Linked DNA regions of Homo sapiens: all the other regions are linked to region 1. The links are contacts of gene promoters, found by promoter capture Hi-C in human tissues and cell types (Jung and others, 2019). All regions are on one chromosome and are shown on one strand. The core of a region is centred on a gene start or on the middle of the fragment in contact, and the rest is flanking DNA. Distances in the headings are between cores, read along the strand shown. Region 1 holds the start of ZBTB7C (zinc finger and BTB domain containing 7C). Region 2 overlaps ZBTB7C (zinc finger and BTB domain containing 7C). Region 3 overlaps ZBTB7C (zinc finger and BTB domain containing 7C).

Region 1 (3,542 bases), core at 546-3,045:
CTATTCATATCTAGTTTTCCACTCTTACATCCTATTCCAGAGCCCGTTTTCCCTTGTTTTCACTACTCCCAACGTACTATCTTGCAATGTGCGTTTATTACACGAATGAATGAAATGGTTTAAAAAAAAATCCCAATAAGTGATATTAGGAAGAGGCACCAAAGGTTCACAAACTTATTTTTGTGAATTCTGTAAAAAATGTCATCCAGTGTCTTCAGCATTAAAGGACACAGCAGCAGCCCCACTGCCCTTTTATTAATCCGTAGCCAGAATGGGCACTAGGCGGCCGGGATTCGCCATCTCGCCTCTCCTGGGCGCCAGGTGCGCCTCAGATAAGCGCAGCCGGGTAGGAGTTTGAGGACGACAAACTTTCCCGCTTCTGAGGGAGGAGCCCCGGAGAGGACCCGCTGACGTGCGAGGGTGCTGCCTCCGATGTACTACCAAGGAGGGCGAGGGTTCCTATGTCTGTCTGGAGCGCAGAGGGGTGGACTGCAAAAAGGTAGGAGGCAAAGCCAGCTCGAGTTTCCCCGGCCCGTAGCTGGAGGGAACATCTGCCCAAGTGTCGCCTCGCCCGAGAACGCTCACGCCCTCTCCAGGGCCAGGACCCTTCCTCCTCCCCTCGCACTGGCCCTTCGTGGCTTCCAGCACCGCTGAGCACTCGGCGTCCCAGCGAGATTCTCCTGCCCCGACAGACTCCGAGGGGGCGGGGCCCGGCGGGACGGGGCGGGGACAAGCCCTCCCCGGGCCCGCCCGTTGGCATTGTTGCGCGGTGATTGGACGCTTCGGAAGGCCGCCTTCCAGGCCGACCCGGGGAGTGACGGGCGGCCAGCGGCTGCTCCCCGGCGTGTGGGGTGCGGAGTGCGGGGCCCAAGGCTCCAGAGGGGTGGGGACTCCGGGCCGCAGCGCCGCCGAGCGCGATTGCCCGCTGAGATTCGGCGCCCCGGGGTGCGGCAAGCTTGCGGTTTCAGGTGCTGGCTAGGCGTCTTGGTGCGCTCGCTGGAGTGCCGAGAGCATTTGGGAAACTTAACTTCTCGCCCCCACTCCTTGCTCCCGACTTTCGGGTAGAAAAGCAGTTGCCGAGTTGTTTTATTTCCTCCCCCATCGGACTCTGTAAAAATAGCCGTGCGCCGGGGCGGCAGAGCCCATCTCTGCCGCACCGCTGCCCCGGGTCGGCAGAGCCCATCTCTGCCGCACCGCTGCCCCGGGTCGGGTGTGGACCTAAAAATACCCGGCGGTCCCAAGCCTGCGCTGGGGGTGCGGGCGGGTCCGGCCGGGCCGCAGAGGGCGTCAGGAGACCGGAGAAACGGCGGCCGCCTGGCCCCCTCGCCTCTGCCGGGGCTGTCCCTTTAAATCCTGGAGGAGGCAGAGAGAAAAAAGGAAAGAAAGAGAAAAGACGCGGAGCCCCGAGCGGTTGGTGGCGGTGCCCGGCCCCCCCACTCCGCCTCCGCGTCGGGTCCTGACTCCCGCCCGCAGCCTCCGCCAGTCCCGGGCGCCCCCCGCCGCGCCGCCCACTCGCCACAGTTACTGTCAAAATAGAAATTAGCGGAGCCGGGCGGGGGCTGCGGCGCAGCAAGTGCATGTGCCGCGCGGCGGGGAGGGGGCGGGCGCGAGCGACAGGCGACCGCACACATCCGGGCCCTTTAGCCCTGTGCGCCCCCCGAGCCGGCGGCGCGGGCGCGGGGCGCGGGGCGCGGGGCTGACAGCCGCGGCGCGGGAGGCGGGGCGCGGGGAGGGCGGAGGCGCGGCGCGGGGAGGGAGGAGCTGCCCGCTCGCCCGCTGCCGCCGCTCAGCTCCATACCCGCCGGCGCAGCCCCGCCACGAGACTCTGACAGCGGCGCGGCCGGCGAGGCTCGGGCGCGCAGGGACCGGCGGACACCGGCGGCGAAGGAGGACGCCAGGACTGCGTCCCGGAGCCAAGTGCGGGAGGCGCGCAGGGCCGGCGGCGCGCGGAGGTGAGCGGCTTCGCGCGCCGGGCTCGGGCGCCGGCTGCCGGGGTCGCGATCTCCACAGCACCTCGGCAGCCGAGGCAGTTCGGGAGGTCGCGGGGCGGCGGGCGGGTGGCTTTGCTTGGGCTGCGCCGGAAAGCGATTGCGGGGGCCGTTGCTAGGAGGCCGGCGGTCCGCGCGCCTTGGGGCGCCGGCTGGAGCAGGGGCGCCCTCCGCGCGGTGGGCAGGAGGCGGGGGGCTGCGGTGGCTATTCAGGGGCTCCGTGCGGCAGCCATGCAACGGAGGAGGCGGGAGGAGGGAGGGAGGGAAGGAGGGAGGGGAGAGCCAGCGGAGAGCGAGCCAGCGAGCGGGCGCCGCGCCTCCTGGCTGGCACCGCGGCCCGGAGCGAAGTGGCGCGCGGGGCTGGAAAGGAACTTCTGCGGGCGCGTGCGGCCCGGGGCTCGGCGGCGCCTGCGGGCCCGAGCGGGGCGGGCCCGTCGGCAGCCACAGGTGGTTTCTGCCAAAAGTTTTACCGCACTTCTGCCTGGAAGGCGCGGGAGCGTTTTGGTGAGTGACGTTTTCCTGGGACTTTTGCAGTCTCACTTCGCGCTGTCTTTTCTTGAAAATTGGAAAATGAGCTGGAAAGGCTGGGATCCAGCACCTCTCGATGAGATCTGAGCAGAGTACAGTCCTTGCCCGAGGTGTCGCTCATGCAGGACTCAAAGATCCTTGCTGCTGTCAAGTCGGGAAGCTGGGGGAAATGGGCGCACGCACACAGTTCCTCCAAGCCTCGGACAAGTGAAGCCGAGCCTGGCCCGGTGCCTGTCGCCGCGCGGGGTAGTGCGAGGTCTGTTCCCAGCGACACGCACGGGAACTGCGTGCGTCTTCTCTCAAGGTGTGTACGTCTCTTGCTCCGTTGAAAGCGAATTGTCTCTGGCCGCTGTGCTGCTTTGTTTTTCCGGTTGCTTGTCTGGTTTTACTAGGATGAAGGCCAGGAGGAGCCAAAGAAAAGCGAAGCGGCAGCTCCCGTTATCTTTGCAATCTGCAAAGCTGTGGAGGCTGGTACCCAACCTTCCGCGGCGCGGGCGCAAGGCCGAGGGGAGCTGGGGGTGGGTGGCGTGCGCTGCCTGTATGGGAAGTCTCGCTGGACCATGCGCAAGGCTAGAGCCGGAGTTTCTGGTGCTTCTAGGACAGAAAGAGGAGTGGGAGTGGGAAGGGAAGACCCCTTAAAAGAAGATATACTGTGCCCAGACCTGGGAGAGAGGCTCCGAGAAGTCCGGTGGCTTGGCCCTGTTCTTCATTGGCGGGGTTGAGGAATCCAGGGCAGCGAGGTAGAAACACCTCGGTAGGTCGTCCTGGGCTGAAAGAAATCATTATTCCCAGAGCGGGCCAGATACCCGGGTGTTGAAACTAGGTACAAAACTGCGTGAGAGGTGGAAACTCTCAGTCCTTCATTCTCCTTGGTCCGGTGGCTCCCGCTCCCTGCCCCCACAAGTACATGAGCAAAAAGCATGCCCTTTGCTTTATAGAAGGTCATAGGATTTTGAAGTTGAAAGAGACCCTAGAGATATTAGGAGCACTCATTTTACAGATGAGCAAACTCAGGCCCAAGGAAGG
Region 2 (3,542 bases), core at 416-2,915, 240 kb after region 1:
TGGCCCAGTTAGGAGTGGTGCGGTGCTAGAAGGGTGGGCTGGGAGGAGTTTGGATTTTATCCTGAAGGTCCTGGGAAACCACTGCAGGACTTTAAGAAATTATGCCAAACTGGGGGAAATGGGGATGATAACAGCCACTTCCCAGAGTTAATATCAAGATTAAATGAGATAATCCACATAAACCTTTTCAGTTGGCGTGGGGCCTGATGTGGAGTGGATGCTTAATCATCATGAGTTTCTTGGACTTTGAGGGGATCTACTGATTTTCTTAATCAGGTTTTGGGTCTAACAGCAGAACTGTTCAAATCACAATGTAGGAATAGAAAATTAGCAAAACCTGAAGTAAACTAACTGTCCACTCCTGTCTGGCAACATCTTGGGAAGAGGAAGATGGCATGTTCAAGAACTAGAGGAAAGTCGGAGCTTTCAAGTTGCTCCAAGGCCTCCATTCTCAGAACAGAAACCAAGGCCTGGGAAGGCTCTGCAGTGAGTTACTCTGCAGTGAGTTCATGGCTGTGCCAGAGGCTGCTGTTCCACCCCACAGTCCCCTCCCACCACCCCCTAGACAGTGCCTGTGCTCCTCTGTCTCTGCAGGAGGCCTTCCCGACAGTCTGTGTCTCCTCCCTGAACTGTGCTGACCCTGAAAACAGAAAAAGCGAGAAGCAGACAGGACCAGGCGGCCCTTCCCACCCCTACTGTGGCAGGCTGGCCTGGGACAGAGCAGCAAGTCCAAGGCCCTCTTCGCCCCGGGCCAGCTCCCTGAGGGAGGGGCCGCCCAAGGAACTGAGGGCTATCATTGCCCTCGACTTGCCAGCCCAGTGAAGGCCATTCCCTGTGGCCCCGTGGGTCACGTCAGTCAAGTGTTTGGGAAAAATAAGTGTGCAACGATGTGGCGGGTGCGTCCTTCAGAGCTCGCTGGTCTCCCTCTCCCCCAGCTCCCACTGATGGAGGCCAGGAGGTCACCCGAATCTCCCAGACACACTCATGGAGACAGGGCACACAGACTCCGCTCCCAGCTCCCAACCCTTCTACCTGCTTCAGGCCTGCAGCTCCGGCTGAGAAACCTAACAGGTCCTGGGCAGATTCCCAGCCGCCAGCCCTCCGTGCCCCCCTGCCTGCTCCACCAAGCTGTGCAAATGGCTGCCTGACGGGCCATCATGACATTTAAGGGCACTGGGAAGCCCCTGATGCAGACCCATCTTCCCACCCATCTTCCCACTAGCTTAAAATCCATCCTCAATGCGTCCTTAGCCTCATCATGTCCTGTCTGTGGCCGAATCCACTGCCACCTCTTCCCAGATACCTTTCTCAAACTACAGAGGAACAGTGACCTTCTTCCTCTGCCTGCAGCCTACACAATAGGTTTCAGCTTTGGGTGCAGGCCTGGCCACGTCTGTTTCTTGTCCCAGGTAGCTGTGAACAAAACTGTCTGCCTCTTTCAGTATGAACCACCCAAGAGCTGGAGCTACTTCTTATTCGACTTTGAAATCCCCAAATGCGTGGACTGAGTGGCTGACATGAAAACAGAAAGACCACAGTCTTCAGAGACTGGAAGGATTAAGCTTGAAGTCTGGCCTGATACTTGCCAAGTGGCTTCAGGGAAGCCACTTAAATTGTCTGAGCCTCCATTTTCTCATCCATTCAATAGGATGATGGTATCTACCTTGCAGGGCTGTTGCCCCACATAAAGTAGTCAGAGTGCCCAGCCCAGGAGCTAGGACCCGGCAGGCACCTGTTGCTTCATTCACAGATGCCTACTGTGTGCCTGCTCTGGGCCAGCCTCCAGGGCAGCCATGGAGACAGCAAGCTAGGACTCAAGCACAGTTCCGGAAGCCTCTGCTGAGAGCCCTCTGTCTGGGTTGTGCTGGGGCTGGGGCTGCAGGAATGGGTACAGCATCCTTGCCCTCCAGGCATTAATGGTCATTCCCATCATGGGCACAGTGGATTTTCCAGGCTCCTTCCAGCCGCATAGTTGCTGAGATCAGCTCCTAGAATTTGGTGATGGATGATTCCTGGGATATTCTTCCTAGAGTGAAGGGCCTGGCCTAGGTAGGGGAAGTGAGGGCTGGAAGGAGAGAGGAATTCAGAAGAAAGAAGGCTGAGTGCCTGACCTCAAAGAGTGCCCAGTGTGGCATGCCCATTGCTCTCCAGGAGGGGGTGAGATGGCCAAAGCCAGCCTGGATTCCTCCTTTAGGGAAAATAGGTATCAGCCAGCTCGGGGAAGAAGCCACAAGCTGGGCTTTGTCCTCTTGTTTAACTTGGGGCCAGGCCTGTGAGCACTGGACCATGGGGCTCCAAGGCTCAGGCAGGGCCAGAGAAAGAGTTAAGTGAGACCTGGTGCCATCTTCTTCTACTGCCAAGGGAGTCTCTGAGTCCAGGTCCAGCAGATTGGGACCTACCAACCTTAGGTTCCAGATTCTAATGCCCCACTTTCAGGTAGGTGGCTGGTAAGAGACAGTTGAGTGTAGGCTATAGGCAGAACCCAGGGCACAGCTCCTTGTGGGATCAGAAAGTGAAGGGTCCCTGCCCTGTGGGGCAGGGGGAGGGCTAGTCCTGGCGAAGGCACCACACTCCCATGAAAGGCCTGGACAGCAACCACAGAGGCCTCTGCAGTCGTACAGGGGCGGGGGGTTCTCGGTCATCTGTCAGTGCAGAGGGGACAGGTGCAGAGGAGTGGGGTGGGCCTAGTGAGGTGAGTGAACTGAGGAAGGCTCTGGGAGAGGCACCTGCGGATCCCAGGCTTTGAATGACTTCATAGGTGTGGAGGGGATCTCCCAAGAGTACCTGCTTACTCTGTTAAGGTGTCAATGGCTCTTTTTCTCCTCCTGGCCTCCTCTAAAGGTCTGAGGACCAGTGGGAGGGCTGGCCCCATCCCCTAATCCAACATCCCAGCCATGTCTTCCTGAACATGTCTGAAAATGCTCATCCCTGAGGCTGCCCCGGGTTTGGTGAGCTCCTCTGGGTGGGAACTTTCTTTGTGTTCATGATGCCTCTCTGCCTCCCCTCAAATCCAGCATTTCTGCAGGTGGGTGGATCTCAGAGACCCCAGCTCTCACCTCAGTCTGCGCATCCTTCTCTGGAGAGGCTGCCAGGCCCCCCAAGAGCTTTGATGGATGAGTCCCTGTTCAGGTCCAGATGCCCCCTGCAGAATAGGAAGACTGGATACTAGTTAGCCCTTGGGGTGTGGGTAGAGGGCTTCTTTGGCACAGGCCTGGCAAGCAGGTGCCCATCATTCAGCACAGTAAGAATGCTGAGGCAGGGTCTTTGGTCCACTTGCTGGTGATATAGTGGAAGGCAGTTAAGCAGCTGGGAACCCCATCACCCCAATGCACAGGCCATGAGGGCACCCTTAAGGCGGATTTTGCTGGGGGAAGTTGGCCTTTGTGGGGAGTGCAGTTCCAGTGTGGCTTTCAGTGAATAGATAATGAAGTGACATTTTAATTGTGTTTCTGTTAGGTCAGGAGAGGTGAGGGGTGGGAGAGTAGATGGAGTCAGGGAAACACAGAGACCTTCTGTCCACTCTCCCTCATAACAGAGAGAAC
Region 3 (3,542 bases), core at 370-2,869, 130 kb after region 1:
GTTAGTTGGGACCTGGGTCCTTTCCCTAGATTTCTCAAGTCATGCCTTGCTGGGGACTCTGGCTCCGTAGGTGTGTAACCATGAGAATATATAGACCCTTGTGTCTAGGATTTATGTCTAGAGATGGAGACATTCTCAAATATGGTCAGAGTTGGGGGTGTGGCTAGTCACAGGGTTGTGCAGATGACTGTGAGCAGGGATTTAGGGGTTCCTCTGTGGGCACCTTTTGTTCTGGGTGTGTTGATACGGGTTGGGGCAGATTGTGTAGGGCTTGAGAAGCCAGGCCAGGATGTTGGGGAGTTTATTCTGTTAGTGGTGGATTGCCATTGAAGGCTTTTGAGCAGGTTAGTGCCTTCAGGGAAGCAATGTTTTTAGAAACACCAATGGGAATGGAGCCCAAATCCAATGAATGATGGATGCAGTGGCCCTGACATAAGAACTTGGGAGTCCAGGGAGGGGTCGAGGAGTGCCCTCAGTTATGGGTGAAGTCTCGGGAGTCGGTGAAACCCTCAGGCTGCAGTGTGCTCCCACTTTCTCCAGCCTCCATGGTACCTTTCCTGCCCACTCCTCCTTCTCTGACAAGCTGGCTCCACTCAGCACCCTCCAATACATGCTCCTTGGCTGTGCTCCTGCCTACAGCACTGACCACACCGTATTCTAATTGTAGGGTGAGTTCCTTGGGGCAAGAACCAAATGTGTCTTATTTACCATTCTGTCTCTAGCACCTTGCACAGTGCCTGGCACATAGTAGATGCTCAATAAAAATTTGTGGAATGATGAATATTCTTTTGCATCCTACCTATTTCCTCTCCCTACCAACCCCTTTTGAATGACTCGCATCTGCTCATCTTGGCTCTTATCCACTGCGTTGTGATTTCCTTCATCCCCTTTCTTCAAGGCTCTTAAATCCTGCATACAGATGAAGATGTCAAGGCAAACTCAGTGCAGAGGCAGGTTCAGTGCTTCCCCTGCTCTCTGCTTCTGTGAATGTGGGGCTGATGTGTAGCCTGGACAGCCTGGGGCTCAAGAAGCTTGCTTTGCGCAGCTCCCACCAGTGAGGCTTCAGTGGGGGAGCTGCCTGAGGCTTAAGACTGGGGGTGCCTTCATTTTAGTATCAGCCAAGTGCAGGCCATTTTGGGGAGGTTGTCCCTTGTCTGACTCCTACCTTGCAAAAGGCAGGCTGTGCTAATATCAGAAGACAGAACCACCACCCCAGGCCCCGTGCAGTCCTTTGTGTTCATTTTGTTTGGGTGGATATTTCCCCACTGGAGTTTGGACATGATTCATGGTGATAAAGGCTGCCACATCTTACTGGATCTGCCTAAAGCCAAATGTGAGGGGATGCCAGACTTGCCTGAAGCTTTGTGTGAATAAGCATGGCCTCTTTTGCCTCCCCTTTTTTTTGCCATGTTGACCACGAAATGACTGCAGGGAGGCAGGGAACCTGGAGCATCCAGGCTGGTGGATCTGCCAGCCTGTCACTTCAGACTGGAAAGAGACCAAGGCCTGTAAGTACTGGATGTCAGGGCATTCCGTTTTAATGGTGGAGCAGGAGCAGTTTTCTCACAGAACAGTCAGGGGTCTGTGTTCTGAGGAGTGGGGGTGCCGGGGGGACCGTCTCCATGGTGCTGCCCTCTGGGCCCTGGGGTGAGCTGGTTCCATGGACTTTTTCCTTCTAAGTATGTGTGACAAAGGTGTGACAGTGTGCCCAGCATACCAGTTCCCCTGCCAGGCAGTTTAAGGGCTTTGTCTGTCTCAAATTAATTTTCACTGTCTCCAGCAAGATTCTCCAATTGATGAATTAAAAAAAAAAAAAACAAGAAAGCAAAACAACACAGAAAAATCCAGAAACAAAATCAAAACACAAACCCATTGCAGTCCCTGAGGGGACAGCCTGTGAGGAGCTGGTTGACAGCAGAGAGCAGTTAGGCGGTGTTTCGGTTGTTTATTGCCACGTGGCAAACCAGCCCTAAATATACTGGCTTAAAGCAACTATTTGCTCATGATCATATAGGTCAGAATTTGAGGAGGATGGCTGGACGCGGTGGCTCATGCCTGTAATCCCAGCACTTTGGGAGGCTGAGGCAGGTGGATCATGAGGTCAGGAGTTCGAGACCAGCCTGGCCAATGTGGTGAAACCCTGTCTCTACTAAAAATACAAAAATTAGCTGGGCATGGTGGTGGGCATCTGTAATCCCAGCTACTCAGGAGGCTGGAGAATTATTTGAACCCAGGAGGCGGAGGTTGCAGTGAGCCAAGATCGCACCATTGCATTCCAGCCTGGATGACAGGGCAAGACTGTCTCAAAAAAAAAAAAGAAAAAAAAGAATTTGGGGAGGATTCTGTGGAGACAGCTTTTCTCTCTTCTACTTGGGTTACTCAACTGGGGATAGACGATCCAAGATGGTGCCACTCCCATGTCTGGGGCCTTGGAGATGCTCTTGACTGGGAACCTCAGTCCTTCTGAACATGGCCTAGTCCTCTCTGCATGGCCCCTCATTCTCTGGGGCCTCTTTCTCCTGTGGCTTCTCTCTGTAGCAGAACAGCCTGATTTCTTTGCATGTGGCAGGAACCTGCCTCTGCAAAGTGGAAGCTGCAAGATCACGTCAAGCCCAGAAGGTCATTGGTGCCACATTCTGTTGGTCAGAACAAACCTCATGGCCAGTCCAGATTCAGGGGGAGGGAAACATAACCCACCTTTTGATAGGAGATTGCTGTGGCTGTCTTTGGAAATAGTCTATCACAGGAAATAATCCGTCACCTCCATTGCTGGTTTTCTTCTCACCATTGTCACCTCTGAGCCTGTCCCTCTTTACCTCACCCTACTCCCACTCCAATCCCTCCTCCCCCTTGCATCCTCAAAGAGAGGGGCTGCTACCTGCTATCTGGCGCAAAGGAAGGGGGTCGATTTAAAAAAAAAAAAGCTCATGTGGTATTTTTGTGGCTATAGATGATGAATCCTAGAACTCTGTTGTTCCTTATAAACCACTATGTTTGTCTACAAATTTAGCACTCGAGGGAATGTTTTGTGATTTCTGTTGTGGGAGCCTCCAGCGTGACTGTGAAGCCGGCTGAACCCAAGTGCCCGTTTCCCACATTTTGGTGTGTCCTCACCAGCCGGGGTTGCCCTTCATGATGCAGCCATAAAATGTGCACCTTGCACATGGTTAAGCAGCGTATTAGTTGTTCTAGCCTTCCTTAGAATAGCTGTGAAGTTTAAATTCTCAAAATCTAAGTGAAATAGCTATTTATTTTGCACTTTTATTTGGGACAGAAAATCCTAGAGAAAGCTTAGGACTGGTGTGAGATGGTATCTCATAGTGGTTTTGATTTGCATTTCTCTGATGGCCAGTGATGATGAGCATTTTTTCATGTGTTTTTTGGCTGCATAAATGTCTTCTTTTGAGAAGTGTCTGTTCATGTCCTTCGCCCACTTTTTGATGGGGTTGTTTGTTTTTTTCTTGTAAATTTGTTTGAGTTCATTGTAGATTCTGGATATTAGCCCTTTGTCAGATGAGTAGGTTGCGAAAATTTTCTCCCAT

The links. Contacts are between HindIII fragments. The study calls those that stand out against the background at their distance.
Region 2: a fragment that was not itself captured here is called in contact with the fragment with the promoter of ZBTB7C in region 1 in 2 of the 25 tissues and cell types used here (dorsolateral prefrontal cortex and thymus).
Region 3: a fragment that was not itself captured here is called in contact with the fragment with the promoter of ZBTB7C in region 1 in 2 of the 25 tissues and cell types used here (liver and mesendoderm cells).

What each region holds. Positions count from the first base shown.
Region 1 is chr18:48,407,636-48,411,177 of GRCh38, reverse strand. ZBTB7C (zinc finger and BTB domain containing 7C) reads left to right here and starts at 1,795. Exons shown (of 5, transcript NM_001318841.2): 1 at 1,795-1,952. RefSeq lists a silencer at 627-1,006 and enhancers at 2,277-2,894, 2,895-3,514. The HindIII fragment of the contact is 7,054 bases long and covers 1-3,542 here.
Region 2 is chr18:48,169,923-48,173,464 of GRCh38, reverse strand. The region is part of intron 3 of ZBTB7C (zinc finger and BTB domain containing 7C); the gene reads left to right. All of the region lies in intron 2 of ZBTB7C-AS1 (ZBTB7C antisense RNA 1), which reads right to left. Among named protein-coding and RNA genes, the nearest start is that of ZBTB7C-AS1, 9.0 kb to the right of the region's middle. RefSeq lists an enhancer at 798-1,298. The HindIII fragment of the contact is 8,757 bases long and covers 1-3,542 here.
Region 3 is chr18:48,277,219-48,280,760 of GRCh38, reverse strand. All of the region lies in intron 2 of ZBTB7C (zinc finger and BTB domain containing 7C), which reads left to right. Among named protein-coding and RNA genes, the nearest start is that of ZBTB7C-AS2, 27 kb to the right of the region's middle. The HindIII fragment of the contact is 4,548 bases long and covers 1-3,542 here.